2 separate regions of the Homo sapiens genome follow, and region 1 is linked to region 2. The links are contacts of gene promoters, found by promoter capture Hi-C in blood cells and fetal thymus (Javierre and others, 2016). All regions are on one chromosome and are shown on one strand. Each heading gives the region's core, a stretch centred on a gene start or on the middle of the fragment in contact. The rest is flanking DNA. Distances are from core to core; before and after follow the strand shown. Region 1 has its middle 72 kb from the start of BANF2. Region 2 holds the start of BANF2 (BANF family member 2).

Region 1 (6,060 bases), core at 1,452-3,951, 72 kb before region 2:
ACACACACATAATTTATATCTCCTCCTGCTGATGGATATTTGGGTTGTTTCCTGTTTGGGGGCATGATGAGCAGTGCTCCTATGTGTATTCTCGTACATGTCTTAGGAAGCTTCTATGCAGCACAAGCACTGGTTTCTGGTAGACATATACCTAGGAAGAGAATTTCCAGGCTTCATTTCTAGGAAGTTCTCTTTCACCTTCCCCCATTCTTAGGCAATAGGGAAGGTTTAGGGGCAGTGGGGGATAGGCCATCCTTACGCTGAATGTGGTCGCACAGTTGGACAGTTGCCCACTTACCGGGCACAGGGTCTGTCCACAGCCGAGGTGCCCACTCGCTGTTCGTAAGTGGACACAGGCATTCCACTGAACTGGAAATAGCACGCTCTTGTTATTTTTAAGGCTTACCTTCTTTTTGGTTTTTCCTTTTTTCTTTTTTGGGTAACAGTCTTGAAAGAGACTCTTACAGGGAAAATAACAGAAAGCAAAGACTTCTGTATTTGATTCATAAAATGATTTCTCCAGGGATGAATCCACCGAAACCTCCTAATTCAATGTCACTCAGAGGAGTCCATGGACATTTGTGTCCAAGAATATTAATAGCAGTAACTTAAAAAAAAAGCTTCTTCCATCAGGGAAGTTTGGGAGACACCCAACTGAACAAAGTGAGTTAGGTTTTCTTACTCAGGACTTGTTGGAGCCTCGGTCAGTCTCCAAGAGGCCCCCTAGAAGCCACTTTCTCTCGGCACAGCGTTTTGTGGGCTGGAGAACCCACACTGGGAAAGCCTGTGAGGAGGAATATTTTTGAAGTATTCTTGGAACATGTATTATTGTTTTAGTCTCTGGGGCCTATTTCCTCCAAACCTGAGCCTGCAGTGGAGGTTGAGCCGGCAGGGCATCATTCTCGGCATGAGCCATGCAGCCCTGGGTCCCTTTTTGCATTTGGCTCCACCTGATTCCGAGCATGGGGCTGACTGATCCAAGTTCAGAGAAACTAAGTTCATACAAAACCAGGCCTCAGAGGAGTTCCCAGGAGCTCCTGGGCACCCAGACCCATCTACAAACGGTGGAGGAGCTTCGTCCCTACACTTGCTGGTCCTTCCAGCTCCTCCCCCAGATATCTCCAGAGCCACTGCCTCCCCTCCTCAGGCCTTGACCTTCTCTGTGAGGATTCCGCTGACCACCTTGAAGTCACAGCCTTGCCCCCACCCCCAGCACTTCGTATTCACTTTTCCTGCTGTTTCCCCTCCTGAGCCCTTACCTAGATTTAACATACTCCATCTACTTATTTATTTATTTACTTGAGACAGGGTCTCACTCTGTCACCCAGGCTGGCATGCAGTGGCATGATCATGGCTCACTGCAGCCTGGACCTCCCAGGCTCAGGTGATCCTCCCACCTCAGCCTCCTGAGTGGCTAGGACTACAGGTGCCCACCATCACGCCCAGCTATGTTTTGTATTTTTTGTAGAGATGGGGTTTTGCCATGTTGCCCAGGCCGGTCTTGAACTCCTGGGCTCAAGACATCCACCTGCCTTGGCCTCCCAAAGTGCTGGGATTACAGGCGTGAGCCACCGTGCCCGGCCTCCATCTATTTACTTAACTTGTTGATTGCCCCCTCCTCCTCCAGCTAGAAGGCAAGCTAGAAGGCAGGAAGGGCAGGGTTATTATCCGTCTTGCTCTGCCATACCCCAGAGCCTGGAACACTGTGCGGCAAACAGTCGGTGCTCAGCAGATGCGTCCAGAGTGAATGAAGTGTGTCCACTGTGCTCTTGTGAGAATGCTTTCTTCTAATTTGTGATGTTTCTGCCTAAAGAAGGTCAAGTTGCCAGCCTGACTTTGGTAGATGGGAACCACTGGTGAGAACTCCACCTGCTTCCCTCAAGACGGACCTATCTGTTATGTATTCTGAGGCAGGCACTTTGCTGGGGGCGCACACAGGATTCCAAAACCCACTGTGAAAATGCACACCCCAGGGAGTGCATTCAGACTGGAAAGCAGGCTCTTTTATCTTTCTTTTTATTGATATTGCATTTGAAAAATACATACATACAATCAATAAAATACACAAAGTGAGGTTTCTTTCTCACCTCGAACCCCTACATTCCACTTCTCCTCTCCAGAAGCAACCTTTGTTAGTTTCTTTTTTAGCTTTCCTGAGGTATTTCATGCATTTATAAGCATTTTTTTCTTTTTTCACAGGTGATAACACACCATACATGCTCTTCAGCATGTGACTTCTTTCACTTAACAATATGTCTGGGAGGCACCTCCACCTCAGAGCATAAAGAGCTCTCTTTGAAAAGGCCACAGAATATTCCATTAGGTGGATGTACAGGACTTAACCTGCTATTGTCCATCGGCACGAAGGTTGAATCCAGTTTTTTGTCTATTACAAGCAATGACATGTGTATACTTTTGAAAGGAGGGAAAGAAAGGAAGGAAGGAGGGAAGGCAAAGAGAAGGGAAGAAAGACAGGAAGGAAGAAAGAGAAAAAGAAGGAAGGAAGGGAAAGAAAAAAAAAGAAAGAAAAGGGAGGAGGAAGGGAGGGAGGGAAAGCAAGCCACCAACGTGGTTCAGAATTTGACAAATATTTATTGGCACATATTTTAAGTGCCAGGCCTATTGTTAAACTCTAGGAAGCTCCTGCCCTTGGAGCCAGTCTAACAGTGAATCTCAAAGTCCTGTCGCTTTTTTCTCTTCAGAGAAATTCCTCATGGCTTCTCCTGGGGAGGGGAGCGGCGAAGGGGAAAGTAGGGAAGAGGCTCTGCTTAGCTTTGAACTGCACTCAGGGCACGGTTGTATGTGGACGCACTCAACCACAAGCACGGTGGCCGACTCTCACAAATGTACATTCGGGCAGCCTGAGGGTTATGAGTTTGTCATGATATATTTAGAGCGAGCAAGAGCCCTTTAGTGGTGCCCCGAGCCAGAGAGTAAATAGCTGCTTACACGGGCATTTAAAGCCAACATAGAAAGAGGCTGTAATTGCAGTGCTCAGGAAATGCCATACTTGAGAGCTTTTCTAAAATGACATGCTATTTGACCCAATATTTTCCAGAATGCAGAGGCTTCTTTGATCTTTGCAGCACGGCGCCCTTGCACAATGACTGGGTCACAGCAGCACTCCGGATGAACATGCCCCGCCGGGGGTAGAGCTGGTAACTGGGAGGACTTGGGCTGAGAGCTGGTGGACCAGATCTTGGGTTGAATTCTCCCAGAAGTAGAGAAAGATGGAGTTCAGAAGATTGTTTGGAAACGCATTTCTGGAAGCCCCCCTGGGGAGCGGGGAAGGGAGACAAACCTGTTCAGAGTATTGATGGGTAGTTAGCACCGTGGACAAGCAGAACTCAACACTGTAGGGGCCTTGGGAGATGGCAGGGACATGCTTCACAGCAGCCCACCTGAGGGGCAAGGAAGCTGGAGTATTTATCCCACCAACATCCATTCCTCATTGGCCAGAGGTGTCTTGGGAGGGAGTAGGGGGTTGAGTCTCCAATCAGCCCTGCTTAAAGCTGGGGAGAGAAGCTGTTGGGTTGGCCTCCATAGGATTTTTATAGAAAAATCTCCCAATTGCTAAATGTTGGCAAATGATCCCCAATTTTCTTTTCCTTTTTTTTTCTTTATTTTGAGACAAGGTCTCACTCTGTTGCCCAGGCTGGAGTGCAGTGGTGTGGTCATGGCTCACCGCAGCCTCAACTTCCTGGGCCCAAGCGATCCTCCTGCCTCAGCCTCCTAAGTAGCTGGGACCACAGGCATACACCACCACACCCAGCTAATTTTTAAATTTTTTTTTGAGATGGGGTCTCCGTATGTTGCCCAGGCTGGTCTCTAATTCCTGGACTCAATCAAGCAATCCTCCTGCCTTGGCCAAGGCAGGCAGATCGCTTGAGGCCAGGAGTTCGAGACTAGCCTAGCCAACATGTCAAAGTCTCTTATCTACTAAAGATACAAAAAAATTAACTAGGTGTGGTGGTGCACGCTTGTAATCCCAGCTACTCGGGAGACTGAGGCATAAGAGTTGCTTGAAACCAGGAGGCAGAGGTTGGAGTGAGCAGAAATCACGCCACTGCATTCCAGCCTAGGTGACAGAGTGAGACTCTGTCTCAAAAATAAAAATAAAAATTCCATGAAGTCAGAGAGAGCTGACAATTTACTCCTCCTCAGTTGATTATACCTCAGCTTACTTTTTTCTTTTTTTATTATACTGAAAAGTTGCAAAATACCTCAGTTTATATGAGTTTTCCAGATTAAAATATTATTGCTTTTTAGTGAAATCTTTACAGATGAAATGATGTTTGGGATTTGTTTCAAGGTAATATAGGAGGTGAAAAGTGGGTCAAGTATAGATACGGAAAGATTGGTCATGGATTGATAAGAATTAAATTGGGTCACAATAGTCATATACTATTTTTTATTTTATTTTATTTTATTTTTTGAGATGGAGTGTCACTCTGTCGCCCAGGCTAGAGTGTAGTGGCACAACCTCGGCTCGGTGCAACCTCCGCCTCCTGGGTTCAAGCAATTCTTGTGCCTCAGCCTCCTGAGTAGCTGGGATTACAGGCGTGGGCCACCATGCCTGGCTAATTTTTATATTTTTTATAGAGACAAGATTTTGCCATGTTAGCCAGGCTGATCTCAAACTCCTGACCTCAAGTCATCCACCCACGTCAGTGTCACAAAGTGCTGGGATTACAGGCCTGAGCCACCATGCCTGGCCTAGTCATATACTATTTTTATAAATGCCAAACATTTTATGTAATAAAATTTTGAGGGAAAGCTTTGAAAGTTGTTATTGTCAATGAGTGGATTGAATGTGCACAACAGAATAAGAGCGGAACCGAGTGGCGTGCTGAAGGCAGGCAATACCTGGGAATAAATTTTACACTGTCAGGTGACATCTCTTCATGCACATTTCACTCTAGAGCCTAAAGTAGCATTAATCTTGATTTTAGAAGTGGCTCTAAGTTCTAGAAGAGAATTTAGGTCTCTGTCTTGGATTGTCAGCAAGTGTTCTTGAGTGACTGTTGGTAAAACAACCTTGAAGAAAATTCTGATGTGGTTCTAGAGTCACATGGGAAACAAAATGTACTTGAAGGCTGTGTTGTGCTGGAGCCAGCTCATGTCAGGTCTCAAGAGCCAATTACGTGCATCTTTTCTCAACTCTGCTTTTATCGAGATCAGGTTGATAGTTTGAAACTGACCACGGTAGGAACCTGTATATCATGGAAATTGGCAGATGCTATAAATAGGACTTTTTTTTTTTGAGAGCTGGTTGTTGCACAGGTACCACCACACCATGGCTGTAAGGTCTTCCCTGGGACTCTGAGGGTACAGAGACAGTTGCCATTTTAAACGTGTGCAAACCCACTCTTGAAACAGATGCTGTCAACACTTATCAGAGCTTAGGCAAAGGTAAGATTGCCAGAGAAAGGGATGCAGCGGCAGATAGCTTTCCATTAGAAAGCTGATGGTGTTCAAATGTGCCTGTCACAGGGTGTGGACCACAGTGGATACCTTGTCCATGTCAATAAGCTTTTGTTGAGCACTTTCTAGGGGACTGGGGCAGGTTCTGAGGGGAGGTGATGCGTTTGAAAAGGATGGCAGTTAGTTTCATCTGGAGTGCTGTGTTGAGAAGGATTCTGAGGCTGGTCTGGACTCAGCAGGGAAGAGAACAGCTATCTCCTGATCATGTCTTCCATGTGAATGGCAGGCATTAGTTGCCCTGGATCTAATACCGTGCCAAGCCCTGGGCTAGGCCCTGGAAAATGCATCCCTCTGGCTCTCAAGTAACTTAAAATATTGTGACCCATAAATATTTGTTCCCTTTTTCATCTGTTTATTTATTGATCCATCCATTCTTCTTAGGCTGCCTCGAATGATTTATCAGCAACTTTCCTGAAAGGAAAGCTTAAGACCACCTGATATTATTTTATTTTATTTTTTTCTAGCCACATCATTTCACACCATATTTTTATTTATTTATTTATTTTTAATTTTTAAAATCTGCTGTTTTGGGCTGTTCATTTACCACTTCTCCTTTGTCTGGAAACAGTACCCAGT
Region 2 (5,700 bases), core at 1,810-4,309:
GGGAATGAGATCAGAGATGAAGTCACAAAAGTCAGCAGGGCCCAGAGCAGCAGCGTCTAGCACACCGCCACCAGCCACCGATGGCTATGTAATCTAAGCTTCCATTTAAACAACAAGCGCAGCTCCTCAGTCCCACTGGCCACATCCCAAGTGCCCAGTGGCCCTGTGTGCCTAGTGGCTATCATATGAGACAACACAGAGACAGAATATTCCCGTGACGGTTCTGTTGGCTGAGATGGCTATAGAATAACTCAGAAGCAGATCAGAACCAGGGTTCAAGGTCAGACCATGTGTTCTTGGGCTTAGTATTCCATTAAATTTCTGAAGGTTCCAGTTTTCCCCAGGGTTAAATGAGGCTTTTCCAGCCCAACAGTGGGTCCAAATTATCCACAGCAAGAAGCCAAGTCCACAAACAGTTGCACACGGGTCCTATCCAAGGAGCATCAGCAAGGCCTCATCCATGGAAACTGGCAGCAGAGGTCTGTGTAACTGACTTCTTTGCAACCTCATTTAAGTTGCCAGTTGGGGCTCCCTGATGTGAAAAAAGAACAGAGCATGGCTACTATTTCAGGGCACCACGCAGAAGGGAGAGTGCCACAATTAGCTGAAGCTGCTTTCGATTAGCAGATTTTCTTCCTTGGTGCATAACATCTGTCCGTGTATAGACATCGCTCCATCTTGCCCCATCAGAGTGAGGGGCCGGGCCAGTGAAACAGGCGGGCCCACAGGGAGTTCAGCATCCATCAGGGCAACGTCCAAGAGGAGCTGGAAATAGGCACTGTGGAACTTGGCACATCGATGGCAGTTTGCCTTAGGGAAAGGCTAAGAAAGGAGACCCTGCTTCCTCACACAAGCTGGGAGGCGGCAGATGGAGACATAAGTTTTCCTTGGGGTTAGAAAGACCTGCTTCGTCATTTAGTATTTATGACATCTCCACAAGTACCTGATCCTCTGGGGTGGTTACCTAACCATGCTCATCTGAGAAACGGGGCTGATGACACCCACCTCATGGAGCTGGGGAGGAGTAGGTGGAATAATCTCTGGAAACACACTTGGCATGCAGCAGGCATTTTGTAAATGGTGGCTGAATCATAATCTTGATAGGAAAGAACCAGGTGAATGAGAGAGATGGGCATGGGAACGTTTGATCAGCACTCAGAACTGGCTCCTCCATTTGTTCAGTCAACACAGGTTAACTCTGCAAATTGGCTCTGGAGCCTTGGAAAACTCCCTCAACCAGCCTGGGTTCCTCTTTCCTACCTGGGGCCCGTAGCTGATCTCTATGGTTCTTCCCAGTTCTCCTTGCCTAACAGAAAGTTTGCAGCCGTCCTTAAGGCGTGACCCACCTGAGTTCAATCGCAGAGGGTGGGCAAAGTACTAACACCCAGAAACCTACAATCTTGGATTTGGAAACAGCCTTTAAAGGTCTTTTGGTCCAGCTCCCAGCTGATCACAAGAATCCCGTTCCCTTCCATGCTGATGGAAGAGCCGTGGCCTGCACACTCTTGCTGCCTTGCAAAGCAGCCCATTCTCTTTTCAGAGAGCTCTAATGTTGGGGATAGTCGATAGAGAGTGAAGGCATGCTCCAGGTTAATGACCCTCTTTAGACGTGGCACCAGCACAGAACAGTCTTCAGTTTCTATGTCTGTAGAATGAACCTGAGAACACCTGCTTCACAGAGGTCGGAATTAAGAGCAATAACATAGCTGGTGGGTCTGGCACGGGAGGTTCAGCGTTTGCTCCCTTTCTCCTCTCCAAATTAAACCTGCTGCAGGACGGGGACCACAGGTTGCTCTAGCGCCGGCCCCTCTACTGTCTTTTTTCCTTTTCCAGTGGGGCCTAACATAGGCTAAAATGTTCTTAGCATGCTTGGTGAACCATTGGCGTCTTGGATTTGTGTGTGAAGCAGAGGTTGGCTTCAGCCCATCACATATAAAACTAAGGAGGGATGGCAAAGCCTAAGGGTAAAATATTTCTCTGATCCACCCCCCACCACCTCCCTTTCTACCTTACACAGTCAAGGAGAGCCAGGAGCCTTCTTAAAATCATGGGGTCCCTATAGAAGCCACTCCTTTGTGGGAGAAGGGACGCAGCTGCAGCTGTGTGGACGTGTTGGCACTCACAGATGGTGAATGGACCGTAGACAGACTGTGGGAAAACACGAATGGGCCATGGTAGGGAAGGCAGCTGTGCCTCCTGGGGCCCAGAACGGGTCCCTACTGTTTGTTATAGAAGGCCTTGAGTCTCAAACCACCCTCAGCCGAGTGCAGGTGGCCCATATGGAAAGAGCCAGCATCCTCTTTGAGAGATGGCTTTGGCCTCTGTCCCTGTCCCCGCTACCTTAGATTTTGCCCACTTTCCTGGTGTTCTAATCCATCTCCTTATTTCCCGTCACGATCCTAAAGCTCTCTTACTGTCCCAAAAGGAAAGGAAGTGATTTGATATACCAGCAGGTCACCAGGAGGTGGATTTAAAAACAGCCAAAGCAGGAAGGCCTCTTACAGAAAGGAAGGACCGTCGTTCACATTTTGGACGGGAGGTGGCTGTGTCAGCTACCTCTGCTCATCCTGCTATGTGGTGTGTCATTTGGCCAATGGCTGTCCCTGACCTCAATTAGGGCTAGAAGTGATGCTCTAGTGAATTTGCCATCTGAAAGCCTGGCCTCTCTGCTCTATTAAGAACACAGGTGACCTTTGCCCAGGGAGCTGGTGCAGGTGGCAAGCCGAGTCTTAGGGGAGACTAGAGTACCACCTCCCGCAGATGGTGACACAGCAGGAAGAGGCTGGGAAGGGGTGTGTGCATCAGGTGAGTCAGCTTTCCTAGGAAGAGTTTGGGGCTTACCTGGTGAACTCCTGTCCACCGGTTTGGCTCATCTAAACCTGTGTGAGAATGAGACCTTAAAGTGCTAAGACAGCCAGCTGTTGGCTGTATCTCCTTCCATGCTGCTTGGGAAAGTTCTGAATACTCACCAGGTGCTCCTGATAAGCCAGTGGCAGCTGGCAGTTTGTCTCAGTCACCTTGGATCTGGAACTGCAGGCCAGAGGTTCAGCTTATGTCTTAGGCCCATGGGGCAAATCAGTCTCAAGATCCTGAATGGACTACATTGTGATGTCACACCACAGGTCGGGGGTGAGCACAAAAAGGGCTGCAGTGGCTGCTGGCATCAGGGCACAGGGCAGGGCAGGAGCAAGAGCCTCAGGCCTCTCCAGAAGAAATCAGCCTGTCTGGGTGCTGTTCTCAGCTGGGGTTGCTGGGAAAGAGTGAGGGATGTCTGCTGTACAGAAAACATCAGCCTGGAAGACTGCTTATGAATCCACCTGCTGCCACTTGCTGCCACGGTTCCTATTCTCACCTGGCCTGCGTCAATTCAGTTAAACCAAGTCCATCCTTCATGCAGTTTTCCTGCACAAAGTGACTTCCGTGGGTACCCCCAGCTCCTTGCACATCTTCTGTGATGGACTTGAAATTCCAGGGCAGCTTTTTCTTCTACCAGTATACCCGTGACTTTCCCCCTACTGCCCACCTGGTAGGGACTCAAGGAAAGAGAAGTAACTTAAATATTAGCTCAGGAAAACAAGCAGAAATATAAATCCTCCCACCTTCAAGTTAAATTCAACACAGGTGTCTTTTAGGTTATCCTCTATAGCATATATGCCTGGGCTACTTTCCATTGTTGGTAATTGATAACTTGGTACAATGTATATTTACTAAGCCTAAAAAGAAAAGAAAAACTCAAAAAAGGGGGCAAAGTATAAAATGTTTCCAGAGATTCCATTCCCTTTTGCTGCTGGTGCTTGGGATTGGGGATGGAGGAGTTCTAACCAAGAGCAAACGGCTTCGCTTTGGAAACTGTTGGGTGGCCCTAAATTTTAGAGTCCAAAACAGTGGGTCTTAAACTGTAGGTTGCATTAGAATGACCTGGAAGACTCGTTAAAATACAGATTCCTGGGCCCCACTCTCAAAGTTTCTGACTCATTAGGTCTGGGGGAGAACCCAATAATTCACATTTCTTACACGTTCCCACATGACGTTGAGGCTGCTTGCTCTGAGACTACACACTTTAAGAACATGTAAGGGTGCTGGTATCTTAGGTTTGATCCTGAAATAGTATTGCCAGCTGATGGCAGTATTCAGGGGTTGCTGGAGAATAAACAGGAGCTGTAGCTTTGGGGCCAAAGCTGGCTGAGCTCTCTGGGTTCAACCAGCACGCTTTACTGAGGATCTATTCATTGCCAGAACTGAGCCACGTTTTGGGGAAGCACAACTGACGTTGTCAGTGCCCTGCCCATAGCCTCTTGGCCTTACAACTTCATTGTACAAAGGTAATCTGACTCCCAGCTGCCAGTACCTGCGTATCTTTGCTTGGGGGCTTTTGCCAGCTGCTGGAGTCCACCCTGCCTACAAGCGGGCAGCTGCAAGTTGCAGAATGTCCTCATTCAATGACTATTATCAGTTGGTAGATAAATAACCCAGCTCCCTCCCTGCTCAGGTGGAATAACCTGGAGTCATGTCCTGTTCCATGTCCCAGAGGACCCACAGGACCCACCCGTAGGTGCCTATGCTAGGCCATTCTCTTCCTATAAAGAAATATCTGAGGCTGGGTAATTTCCACAGAAAAGAGGTTTAATTGGCTCACAGTTCTGCAGGCTGTTCAGGAAGCACGGTGCCAGCACCTGCTTTGCTTCCAGTGAGGCCTTAAGGAGCTGACAATTATGTCTGAAGGTAAACAGGGAGCCAGTGTATCACATGGCAAGAGTGGGAACAAGGCAAGGGAGGTACCACACACCTTTTTTTTTTATTATTATTTTTTATTTTTGAGATGGAGTCTCACTCTTGTTGCCCAGGTTGGAATGCGATGGCGTGATCTCGGCTCACTGCAACCTCCGCCTCCCGGGTTCAAGCAATTCTCCTGCCTCAACCTCCAAAGTAACTGGGATTTACAGGCACCCACCACCACTCCCAGCTAATTTTTTTGTATTTTTAGTAGAGATGGGGTTTCACTTTTTTGGCCAGGCTGGTCTCAAACTCCTGACCTCAGATGATCCGCCCATCCTGGCCTCCCAAAGTGCTGGGATTATAGGCATGACCCACCGTACCCGGCCGGGTACCACACACTTTTAAACAGCCAGCTCTCACAAGAACTCACTATCATGAGTACAGCACCAAGACATTCATGAGGGATCTGCCCCCAGGACACAAACACCGCCCACCAGGCCCCACTTCCAACATTGCAATCACTTTTCAACGTGAGATTTGGAGGGGACGAATATTCAAACCATATCAGTGCCCACAGTGGCAACTGGCTTGCTAACATACCCCACATTGTTGCCCCCATCCCCTGCCTCACTTCCCCGCTCCCCTACCTATGTTTCCTGGGATCAAACTGCAAATAAACTGCTTCCACTCAAATCCTTGTTTCAGGGTCTGCTTCAGGGGGAACCCAAACTAAGACTTTGTAAATAAGAAATGATGTCTGTTCTTTGTAAGTTCACATTTAGATGGAGAAACTATATAAATTGGCTTGGTATAATTCAGAATGTCTGGGAACCGGTGAGTGTCAGGTCTCAGGGCAGATGGAGGTGTTCTGCTGGTTGGCCTTTGGAGTATCATTAGGAATGTCTTGAGGAAACACATGAGCTGATATGCTCAGGGGGAGGCCTGGCAACCTGGCCCAAAGGCCTTTTCCTCTGCACAGGGAGG

Evidence for each region. Contacts are between HindIII fragments. The CHiCAGO score rates a contact against its expected background, and 5 or more counts as called.
Region 1: a fragment that was not itself captured here is called in contact with the fragment with the promoter of BANF2 in region 2 in 1 of 17 cell types (M1 macrophages); the score reaches 5.5 in M1 macrophages.

Annotation. Positions count from the first base shown.
Region 1 is chr20:17,768,535-17,774,594 of GRCh38, reverse strand. No RefSeq gene overlaps it. Among named protein-coding and RNA genes, the nearest start is that of BANF2, 72 kb to the right of the region's middle. The HindIII fragment of the contact is 4,157 bases long and covers 623-4,779 here.
Region 2 is chr20:17,697,325-17,703,024 of GRCh38, reverse strand. It overlaps BANF2 (BANF family member 2), which reads right to left and starts at 3,059. Exons shown (of 4, transcript NM_178477.5): 1 at 2,970-3,059. It overlaps LOC105372547 (a long non-coding RNA gene), which reads left to right and starts at 3,166. Exons shown (of 2, transcript XR_937294.2): 1 at 3,166-3,526; 2 at 4,845-5,409. The HindIII fragment of the contact is 11,340 bases long and covers 101-5,700 here.